Regions from separate parts of the Homo sapiens genome. Here regions 1 and 2 are each linked to region 3. The links are contacts of gene promoters, found by promoter capture Hi-C in blood cells and fetal thymus (Javierre and others, 2016). All regions are on one chromosome and are shown on one strand. Each heading gives the region's core, a stretch centred on a gene start or on the middle of the fragment in contact. The rest is flanking DNA. Distances are from core to core; before and after follow the strand shown.

Region 1 (3,578 bases), core at 21-2,520, 690 kb after region 3:
GTGTGTGTGTGTGTGTGTGTGTGTGTGTGTGTGTGTGTGTTGAGTGTAGTGAGAATGCAAGGAAAGATAGAATGATAGAAATTTCAGGTCACATTCAGGATAAATAATAAAACTAATTTGGCTGGAGCTAAAACTTAGTGTGGGTGGCTCATTAGAGATGAGCTTGGAACCTTGAATTTCTAAAGAAGGTCACTAGGCTTTGTCCAGTAGCAGGGAGGAGCTCAGGAATGTCCCTGGAAGAATAGCTTGCTCATGTGCCTGTTTGAGGAAGGAGAGAAAGAGGGAGCAGTTTTTACTGAGTGACTGCTGTGCAGGCCCCATGTTAAGTGCTGAGGACTTAGCCTAGGACTAAGAAATAGAGCAGCAAGAAGGCTCTGTGGAAATCTAGGGAGAGAGAACATACCACTGTTAAAGAGAGGGAACAGCAGAGATATAAAGAAAAGCAATGCTACAGGAAGCTAAACCAGGAATCAGATTCATGGACTCAGAATACATGCTGACTCTGGGCAAATGCAGCCTTAGGATTCCAGCCATGGGCAGTTCAAGCCCTGGTTTGTTTGGTGTGGTGGAAAATGCATGCAGTGTGCAGTGAGAACATAAGTGGGTTTGAGTCCAGCTTCTTTCTCTACCTGGAAGTTCAAGATAACTCAATTTTAGTCTCTCAGCTTTGACTTGCTCATTATACAATGGGTGTTGTTGTTGTCAAATTATATATGATTGTGGCTAAGGTTAAGTTACATAAAGAGGGTGAAACATCTAACAGTTTTCCCAGTACACATTGGTTGCTCAGTGAGTGGATATCAGCTTTGACTTCTTGATTTATCTTTTTTAAGTTCCCATGGTCTACGTTGCTGAGTTTAGGCCTTCTTCTCCTGCAGATTCCCTCTTGGTCACCGTGTCTGATGTACCCCTCAGAGAGGGCATTCATTGCTATTTAAGTGAGGGAATTATGTATATGTTTGGACTAGTGCAGCCACCAAGCTGCCACTGTGCTGAGGGGTAAGGCACAAAATACAGGTTGGGAAGAACTCCTGCCACCGTATAATTTGCTAGCCGCCAGCCTCTCACATCTGACCACCTCCACATGCTCCTCTCTTGTCCAGGCTTCACTAATGTTCTCAAGATCCTGACCAAGGAGAGCAGTCGGGAGGAGCTGCTGTCCTTCATCCAGCACTATGGCTCCCACTACATCGCAGAGGCCCTCTATGGCTCAGAGCTCACCTGCATCATCCACTTTCCCAGCAAGAAGGTCCAGCAGCAGCTGTGGCTCCAGTATCAGAAAGGTAAGCCCGGAGTGCCTACTGTAGGAGGTGGCCAGGCAGGCTATAGAGGCAAGGGGTCTGGGGAGACAACTGAGCTGCCTTGGATCTAAATCCTGGCTCTGCCACGTCTAAGCTGTGTGACCATGGGCAAGTCCCTGCCTCTCTCTGAGCTTCAGTTTCACCATGGGCAGAGTGAGGGATCGTATAATGATTTTGCAGGATTCTCTCAAGTCAGGCATTTTCTGAGGCCTCAAGTTAGTGTTCTAGACTCCAGAACCCTTGCCTTCTCTTGCAGGTACTTTGCTTCCCACATCCTCTCTTTGAAACAACTGCCAGAGATCAGGTTGGGGGTCAGCAAGTGGTGTCTTCTTGACACTTTCTTCTCTCCAGGCTTCTTGGGAGAACCCAAGAAGATCTTGGGTTCTTCTCTCCCAAGAAGAACTCAATTCCTTTGGAAAAACAATCACCTCATAACCAAGCAGACGGTTTCCATTCTGTCCTGTGGTGAGGCTTTTATCCTCAGGAAGGGCCAGCAGATTTCATTTTCCTCTGACTCTCAGCTATTATCAGAATTGGAATTCCTCAGACCAGGTGCTGGAGACCAGTCTCTGCCCACTCACCTTGTGAAGGTTATTCCTTTTCCACCTCAATTTTCTCTTCCTGTGAAATGGGTACGTAAGTAGCTATTCTTGTCTGCTTCTCACATTAAAGATAAGTGGTTTATGTAATAGCATTTTGAGGAAGTTAGAATATCGCACATGTGTATATATGTGTTTTAATAGGTCAGTGTATTCATACTCCCATTTTACACATGAGAAAATGAGTCTCAGATATGCCACATCAAGTACTCATAGACACACAGCTAATAAGTAGCAGGGTCAGGATTGGAACCCAAGGCTGGCTGGCTGCAAAAGCCCATGTTCTTTCCCTCTTTCAACTATACTGAAATGCTTCTTGATATAGTTAATACTATTATTATCAACTATTTGTAAAAGAAAGTCTCTCAATTGATGGAAAGGGTGAAGAGCAATGTTAAAAACATGCTTGCATCTTTTCATACAGCTCAGCCACCCTATCTCCAAGAACAAAAGCAATCATAACAAAAAACCACAAAATGTGGGAGCCAGGAGGGATCTGAAGGATCTCATTGAGCATAGCACTCCAGTTTTGCAGTCGAGGAAACTAAGTCTATAGGGGAGAAGAAGGGAGCTTTCACGCAGCTTTGCTTGGCAGGGCCAAGACCAAGTGGGGTGCTCTACACCTCCTGTCTAGTGCTTTTTATGCAGCTGCACATTCCCAACTGGATAAAACCCTAGTCCACCTGCTTCCCAATCTCTAGATCCCTTCCCTTTTGTCCCTGGGGGCTTTGCATCCCCAGTCGTGCTCTCAGCCCTTTCTGCTTCCTGTGTGCAACTGTGTGGGGCACGGGGTGGTTTATGGGCACAGTGGATATAATTGAGTTGTCTGGGAATAGCTCCGTTTTATGGCTGTGTCAATGACAGTCTTTAAGGAAGTGCATTAAATCAATAGAAGTCTCATTGTGCTACCCTACAAATAATGTGACACATCATTAAGCAGGGCAATAAGCTTCAGGACTTTGAAGTAATACTATTAGGTTATGTTTATAAAAACCTTCACTCACTGTGGCTACATAACTAATTTGCTTCATACCACGTTTGGGGCTTGGGACACTACTCTGATTCTAAATCCCACCCCTTCTCCATCCTTAGCTGTCTTCAGACTTTAGACTTGACTTTCTCATTCCAGAAAATCCCATTCCTTGTATGGTGGATCATGGAATCTGTTACAAGTAAGATGGGAGAGGGGAAGAAAGAGTGCTGAAACAACAGCTGGAGGGGTCCCCCTCAAGACCTGGCTTTGCCGCAAACTTGTGGGGTAAACTTGGTGTTTTCCTTCCTGGGCTTCTAGTCTGCAAAGGCACTTTTCTTGCTTCCATCGTCCATACTTGCTCCCAAGAAAAGGACAGAGGATGCATTGAGGTCAGCTTAACCATTCTGTGTGTGTTTCTTCCCCTCCATCTTCACCTGCTGTGACCACCTAGATGGTAGATCAAATACTCCGGTTTTATTTTTTATATTTGGGAGTGATGCTAGGGAATGGGAGATGAGAAGCTGGGGATATGCATCTGTAGAGTTGAAAGAAGCCTTTGGACTTAAAGATAGCTAGTATCCCCTTTTCTCCCCGGCCATGAGTTATGTGTCACTGCCATCTGCTAAACGTTGGAAACCAGGCCAGGATGAATCTGGGCTTGGAGGCTGATAACTCGGTGGGCAGAACTTGTGAGAGGAGGAGAGA
Region 2 (4,103 bases), core at 1,534-4,033, 670 kb after region 3:
ACCAGCATCGGCATTTGCAACAAGTCAACCTTTACTTTTCAGGATTTCATTTGGGGAAAAATTAAACATTCACCAGCATATTTTTGCATAGTGTTTAAGAACATGAAGTTAGATTATTCAAACCTCACCTTATAAGTTCTGTGCATTTTTCCTCTTTTATGTCTCTGCTCCCTCACTATAAAAGTAGAACAAGAGTGCTTACCTTGCATGGTTGTTGTGCATGTGAAATGAGATTGTATATGCAAAGCCCTTAGAATAATGTCTAGCACGTCGTAAACGATGAATAGATATTAGCTTTAAAAATGATACTTGTTATTCTGTGTGCTAGATATCTAGGGAAGTGAAGGAAGGACGGCAAGGGAGGCAGAGATGAATAAGGCAGTGACTAGGCCCCATGGGAGGGAGATCGCGGTACCACAGCTGAATGGATTGTCTCCCCTACATTGCCATTCAGCTAAGAGACATTCAGCAATTTATTGAATAAGCACTTCTTGAGCCCCTAGTGCATGCATCAGACACTGCGTTAGGGCTGGGTGCACAGCAGTGAATAAGACAGACGTAGTTCTTGCTCTCGAGTGCTCATGGTCCAATGAGGGAGACAGAGGGTGACTGGGAACAACAGTCCAGTGTGATAATGCTAGCATAGCAGCAGAACAGGGGCTGCACAAACACAAAGAAGGAACATCTAACTCCCAAATGAAAAGAGGGGCATTGACAAAGTCCTCCTAGGGAAAAAGAAAACTGAAAATAAAAGAAAAAAACCTAGAATGTGAAGGCAGAATAATGCAAGATGTCCATGTCTCAATCCCTGGAACCCATGAATAAGTTATCAGTTATCTTACATAGAAAAGAAAACATTCAGAGTGCAGGTGGAATAGGGTTGCCAATCAGCTCATCTTGAGATGAAGAGAGTCTCTGGATTAACCAGGAGGCCCCAGTGAAACCAAAAGGATCTTTAAAGAGGAAGAGGGAGGCAGAGGATAGGATGAAGTAAGAGTGTGTGATGTGAAAAGGACTCAATTGGCCGGGCATGGTGGCTCAAGCCTGTAATCCCAACATTTTAGGAGGCTGAGACAGGCAGATCACGAGATCAGGAGTTTGAGACCAGCCTGACCAACACAGTGAAACCCCATCTCTACTGAAAAATACAAACATTAGCCGGGCATGGTGATGCATGCCTGTAATCCCAGCTACTCAGGAGGGTGAGGCAGGAGAATCGCTTGAATCCAGGAGTCGGAAGTTGCAGTGAGCTGAGATGGCGCCACTACACTCCAGCCTGGGTGACAGAGCAAGACTCTGTCTCAAAAAAAAAAAAAAAAAAAAAGTACTCAGTTTGCCTTGGCTGGCTTTCAGGATTGAGGAAAGGGGCCATGAGCCATATGGACAGCCTTAAGAAGCAGGGGAAAGGCAAGGAAGTCAACTCTCCCCTAGAACCTCCAGAAAGAAACATCTCTGCTGACACCTAGATGTTAGCCCAGAATCCCATGTCAGACTTCTGACCTAGAGAACTATAAAATAAATTAATGTTGTTTTGAGCCTCTAACTTTGTGATGATGTTTTACAGCTGCAATAGAATGCTAATACATGGAGCTAATGACATATTTGTGTTAGAAACATTTCAGAAAATCGTTCTGGCTGCAAGATAGTAAATGAATTGGAAGGGGCAAGGCTGAATTCAGAAAGCATAGTTAACAGGTCATTGTAGTAGTCGCTATGAGAGGGGATGATGGCCTCAAGAACAGCTATTAGGGACTGTGTCTATACCAAACCCTGGAATCAGACTGTGGGGAGGAGGGCTCTGAGGGAAACTAGTTATATAGATCCTTGCAGCATTGACCATTGAATCTGAGATGGGAAACACGTGCAGAGAACAATCATACCTAGCAGAGTTGGTGATCTTGAGATCAGAGCCAAAGTCAAGTGCTGTGGAAACAGAAGGATATTGCTTCCAAAGAAGGGACTCAGTGACAGCTTCCTGAAGGAGACGACACCACGAGGTCTGTCTGGGAAGTCTACGAGAGAGCGCAGAGGAGGCTGCAAAGAAGAAACAAATACAGCTGCTGCCTGGAAGGAGTTCACAGTTCAGAGAAGGTATCAGGCAGGTAGAGAGGTCACTCTGCCTAACCCTTGAGAATGCACAAGTCGAAACAGGACTGGATTGGAAACTAAGAATAGGGATTGGTAGTCAGTCCAATTCTGCCAAGAAAACACCTGCAAGGCCTTAAATAAGACACTTCTCTATACTGCCTCTGCTTCTTTTCCTATCAAATGGTAACAGTAATGCTTATCATTTCTAGGAGCATCAGATGTGATTAGAGTGGACCCATGGGTATGGGCCACTGGATAGGCCAGTAAAGCAACTTTGCAGCCATGGTCCTTGAAACACCCTGGACAGTAGGGGTCACAAGCTGCATTCTGCTAGGGAGCAAATTGCAGTTCTGAGAGCCTCCGTCTGGGTGGTGACTTGGCCTGCTTGAAGTGCTGGGGGTTAGGCTTGAGATCTGGCCATCTTCCTGTGGGTCTCACAGTTAGCAGTTAAGCTGAGGTGGACTGACAGCTAGCAGAGGCAGAAAGGAGGCCGAGGACATATGTGATGGGACAAAGCACATTGGTCTGTTTTCTAGCTGTGGTTAATGAACTCAGGCATGTGTGGAGGGCTCTGGTTATTAGTACTAATAATAAGCAAATACTGGGGAGGCAGGTCTCTGGAGTCAGCACAGGAGCATGGGCTTGACTGCTTGGGCTCAAACCTGCTCAATATATCCCATGACTCTTCTTTTACTCCCCACCACGTGCAGTTGGCAATGGAGATCAGCAGGTTCTACTTCCTGACTCTCTCTCAAATCTGTGCCTCTTCTCTGTATTCTGTTGTCCATCTAATCGGTTATGTCTTGTCTGGATTACTGCAAAACCTCTTAACTGGTCTCCCTCCTTCCAGCCTTTTTTCAGTCCATCCTCTACCCTGTAGTCAGGCAGTCTTTTTGAAGCTCCTATCTGATGGTTTTGCTTTCCTGCTGAATACCCTACAGTGGGTCTCCTTACCCTTAGAATGAAGCCCACCTTCTGTAGCATCACTTAGAAAACCCATGAGATCTGATCCCTATGTGGCCTCCTCTAGCCCTATCCCATCCTTGCTTCTCACTCGCTGCTTTAGCATCTTGAAACTTAGCTTATTGCAATTTCCAGAACATGCCATGTGTTTTATCTGTGCCTCTTCCATACACACACATGCGCCCACACACATACACCCCTATGGACTTTTGTGCATGCTGTTCTTTCTGCCTAGGCCCCACCCTCACCTCCTTTTTCTGCCCTCTCCCTTGTTAACCCCTCCCAATCTGTCAAGTCTCACCTCCTCCAGGGAGCCTTCCTGACCTCCTCAGTCTACATTAAGTTTTCCTTCTCTTCATTTCCTTTGTCCCTGAACTTTCCCGATGAAACTTAGACTTTATCCCTCTAACCTATAACCATCCATTCTCACAGTCAAGCATTCAAAAATTATTTTGCTGCAACTCAGTATACAAAAACACTGTTGTCTTAATTTTCTACAACTGACATAATAATTCTCTCAAGTTTTCATTCCACTGATAGCAAAAACATGTTTCTGCCTGGTACGGTGGCTCACGCCTGAAATCCCAGCACTTTGGGAGGGCGAAGTGGGCATATTATTTGAGGTCAGGGGTTCAAGACCAGCCTGGCTGACATGGTGAAACCCCGTCTCTACTAAAAATACAATTAGCTCGGTGGGGTGGCACACCCCTGTAATCCCAGCTACTCGGGAGGCAGGCGAATCGCTTGAACCCGGGAGATGGAGGTTTCAGTGAGCCGAGATCACACCAGTGCACTCCAGCCTGGGCGACAGAGTGAGATCCCGTCTCACTGGAGTGCAGCGGCATGATCTCGGCTCACTACAAGCTCTGCCTCCTGGGTTCACGCCATTCTCCTGCCTCAGCCTCAGCCTCCTGAGTAGCGTGGACTACAGGCGTCCGCCACCACGCCTGGCTAATTTTTTTGCATTTTTAGTAGAGGCGGGGTTTCACCATGTTAGCGAGGATGGTCTCAATCTCCTGACCTCAAGATCTGCCTGCCTCGGCCTCCCAAAG
Region 3 (3,727 bases), core at 1,046-3,545:
CTGCCTGCCTGCCCATTACCTGAGATATTTATGTGCCTGTCTCTTTCCGGCATCCCACCCCCTCACCCCAATCATTATAAGCTTTCCAAAGGCAGGAGTTGTGTTTATCCATCCCTGCATCTCCATATAGCACCTGGTAGGCACCCTGAATATTTGGTGATGAATGAATGAATGAATGAAAGTGTTGGTCTCATTTGACAGGCCTTTGTACTAGAGGTCCATGAAGGACTTGCACAGACTCTGCCTTACATAAGGGAGCCCTTTTTTCCTGGTGTGCTCTTCTGTAAATGGACTATGTCAGCATATTTGAAGAAAGGGGCATAGAGAATCAGAAAGCCCCATTGCGGTGGATAGTGGCGGATTGTAAGGACACAAAGGAGAGACTGAGGGAGGCAGGGTGACATATTTTGGAGGAGTAAATGAACTAGAGCAGGCATCAGAGAGGCAGGAGACCATTTAGAATTAGAGGACTTGAAAGGCCAGATTCCACCCCAACCTCCACACATCCTTTGGGTTCACAGATTAGTAAACTGAGACAGGAGAAGTATACCTTACAAACCTCACAGGGAAGTAGATCCAACTGTGCTTATGCAGATTTACCTTTTACAGCATCTTTGATGGGTGGGGTTTTCCAAGGTCACTGAGGACAGTGTAATTTAAGGGAAACAGTCAAGGCTTGAAGCCTACTGTTCAAACCTCAGCTCTTCAGCTCATTTGCTATACGACCTTGGAAAATCCCTTCACCTCCCTGACCACCTGATCTCAGTTTCCTCACATGGAAAATGGGAATCATAATATCCATCTTTTTGGATTATGGTCATGTAAAAAAGCTAACATACGTACATGTCTAGCATTTGGAGAATGCTTTAAACACATTAAGTCCAAGGTCGCAAAACAGCTTTTGCTTTTTTCCTTATTTTCAGTGCTCTGCCTTTATCCAACGTTATTAAAAAATATATGATGAGAGAGGAGAAAAGCAATTTATATGAAGGGTTAAAGATAGAAAAGGGGAATGAGACAGAAGAGGGAAGAGCTAAGAGAAAAGTGAATGCATAGAGACAGCACAAAAGGTGCAGATGGGTAAGCTAGACAGAGATGAGAAGTTGCTCACAAATTATAGGAAAGAAGCATTTGTAAGATTAAAGTCAAGATGAGAAGGAAGGAAATGAATGGAGAGATGAAACAGAAAACAGAGACAGGGAAGATGAAGAAAAGTAGGGGAGTGGGGAAGGGGCTGCACGGCACTTGACCCATGCAGAGGTGTCCGCTCCCTGGAGGGTCTCAGGTATGTGGGTCAGAGACAGAGTCAGCCCAAGACCAAAGGGTGCTGAATCTGAGGACCTAGCTCAACTTGAGTCTAGAAAGACTGCAGGTGAAGAATTGGTGAGCACTCCCGTTCTCTGGGACTTGGGCAGAGGATCTAAAAGACCCGGGAGCCAAGGACAGACAGAATAGTAGGTCTCTACCTCACACCCTTTTCAGGAATTTCACACAGAGAGCAGAAGCAGCCAAGTAGAGCTGCTCCAAGCTGGGAGCAGGGATCCAAAATAAAAAAGCGTGAGTGGGCTGGCTTGCAGGGCGGCAGCTAGGGGGCCAGAACAGCCCGGCTTCAGTCAGTTGTGGGGTCGGCGTTAGACGGTGGAGTTCGACGCCCCTCTGTCCATTAGCAATTAGTGCTAGCACAAGGCCTGGATGGAGGGGAGAGGAAGGTTTGCGGGCAGTGGGAGAATGAATGCAGGAGTTGTGGCCAAGTGGGTGGGAAGGGGGCTCTGAGGCTACAGGAAGTTATTTCAGAGACTAGAAAAGGGTAGGAGATTGGAGAAAGGACTTGTTCTTGGGCCTGAGGGGAGACAAAGTTAAGTCTTGGCTATCCAGGGGGCTCCCTATCCCCAAGAAGGCGGGGCCTTGAGCAAGGCTGGGCCAAGGCGCGCCCCCAGGTGCAGCCTCTGGGTTGAGCCGAAGGTGGGGTGAAGCCAGGAGAACTGGGTTGAGTCAGGGGGGCTTGGGGGGGCCCGAGGGGGCCCTAAGTATTAGGAATTTGGGGAGTTTAGGGAGGGGTGTTGTGGCTAAAGAATGCTGTGAGGGCGGAATTGGGGGATCTTGGGAAAGGGGAGGGAGCCACTGGGACTTGCACGAGGCCGGGCGGAGCCTCCGAAACGCTCGGGGTCTGCGGGGGGAGCCGGAGATCGGGGACGGGCGGCTGGGCCCCGGGAGGCGGCGCGGGGGGGCGGTCCAGGGCCGATCGGGAGGCGGAGCCCGGAGCTGGGGGCTGCTGGCGAGCGGCTCTCTCCGCTCCTTAGCTCGGGCGTCCTGGTTCGCTTCGGCGTCCGCCGTCTCCGCAGCTGCCTCCTCTTCCTCCTTCGCCACCGCCGCCACCGCCGCCGCCGCCCGCAGCACCGCAGCCCCTCCCGCCATGGCCGCCGCCGGCGCCCGGCTCAGCCCCGGCCCCGGCTCGGGGCTCCGGGGGCGGCCGAGGCTCTGCTTCCACCCGGGGCCGCCGCCACTGCTGCCGCTGCTGCTGCTGTTCCTGCTCCTGCTGCCGCCGCCGCCGCTGCTGGCCGGCGCCACCGCCGCTGCCTCGCGGGAGCCCGACAGCCCGTGCCGGCTGAAGACCGTCACGGTGTCCACACTGCCCGCCCTGCGGGAGAGCGACATCGGCTGGAGCGGCGCCCGCGCCGGGGCCGGGGCTGGGACCGGGGCCGGAGCCGCCGCCGCCGCCGCGTCCCCGGGCTCTCCTGGCTCTGCCGGCACCGCCGCCGAGTCGCGCCTCCTGCTCTTTGTGCGTAACGAGCTGCCGGGGCGCATCGCGGTGCAGGACGACCTGGACAACACCGAGCTGCCCTTCTTCACCCTGGGTAAGGCTGGGCGCCGGCACGCGCTAGATCCCAAGGAACCCCGAGCCCCTGCGTCATGCCGGACGGGTGGGGGCGCCCTGGGGATCCCTGCCCGGGGCTGCCCCGAGTGGGGTTGGCAGAGGGTAGAGGAGGGGCCCAGAGGTCGCACAGGTGGTTGGAAACGAGCATGTGGGAGGAGGTCCTGGAGAGCGCGCGGCGGGAGCCTGGGGGCGTGCCAACCCTCCCGCAGTGGGAACCTGCCCCTCTGCCTCTCAGTCCCGACCTGGAGCTCTGCTTGATCCATCCCGGAAGCCGGAGACCCCATTCACTGAAGGTGCTCTGGCTAGGGGCCGGAGCATCCCAGATCCTAAGCCAGTTTCAGGTCGAGCCTCCCACTTCTCCGGGTACCGTCACTGGCCACCCGCCGTCACCGCCCCCTCGCTCTCGCCTCGGAGTTGCGGGTTCTGCCCTTCCAGATGGATTTTCATGAGAGTAGGAATGGAGTAGTTCCGTGTGGAATCGCTCAACCCGCAAAAGCGTGGCTTCCGCATGGGCTGAGTGACCTTGGCCAAGTCGCTTCCCTTCTCTGAGCCTCAGTTCTGGCCATCTGTGAAATAGGGCTGGAGAGACTTGAGTGGTTGCTGAGAACTGGGATTCCGACTCCGAGGTCTCCACGTTTAGAGCCTCCCTCTACCCCCGTTACCGCCTTCCCTTTCTACCCACCTCCAGGCAGAGAGCCGGTTTGTCCTTGCAGCTCACTCCCTGGGCTAATAATAATTACTTAAAGGCAAGAAAAAGGAGAGGAGAGGAGATGGGTGTGGGTGGGGGGCTCCAACGGAAAAGTTAATCAGAAAAGTTCGCCAGCAGCTTGCTGCCTGCTGGTTCCCTGCGCG

The links. The method cuts DNA at HindIII sites, captures the fragments that hold promoters and counts their contacts. A CHiCAGO score of 5 or more calls a contact.
Region 1: a fragment that was not itself captured here is called in contact with the fragment with the promoter of ASTN2 in region 3 in 1 of 17 cell types (M2 macrophages); the score reaches 5.0 in M2 macrophages.
Region 2: a fragment that was not itself captured here is called in contact with the fragment with the promoter of ASTN2 in region 3 in 2 of 17 cell types (monocytes and M2 macrophages); the score reaches 5.2 in monocytes.

Annotation. Positions count from the first base shown.
Region 1 is chr9:116,723,476-116,727,053 of GRCh38, reverse strand. It overlaps ASTN2 (astrotactin 2), which reads left to right. Exons shown (of 23, transcript NM_001365068.1): 16 at 1,104-1,283. Among named protein-coding and RNA genes, the nearest start is that of TRIM32, 38 kb to the right of the region's middle. The HindIII fragment of the contact is 3,162 bases long and covers 1-2,851 here.
Region 2 is chr9:116,743,305-116,747,407 of GRCh38, reverse strand. All of the region lies in intron 13 of ASTN2 (astrotactin 2), which reads left to right. Among named protein-coding and RNA genes, the nearest start is that of TRIM32, 58 kb to the right of the region's middle. The HindIII fragment of the contact is 9,300 bases long and covers 1-4,103 here.
Region 3 is chr9:117,413,625-117,417,351 of GRCh38, reverse strand. ASTN2 (astrotactin 2) reads left to right here and starts at 2,295. Exons shown (of 23, transcript NM_001365068.1): 1 at 2,295-2,855. The coding sequence starts at 2,414. The HindIII fragment of the contact is 7,467 bases long and covers 84-3,727 here.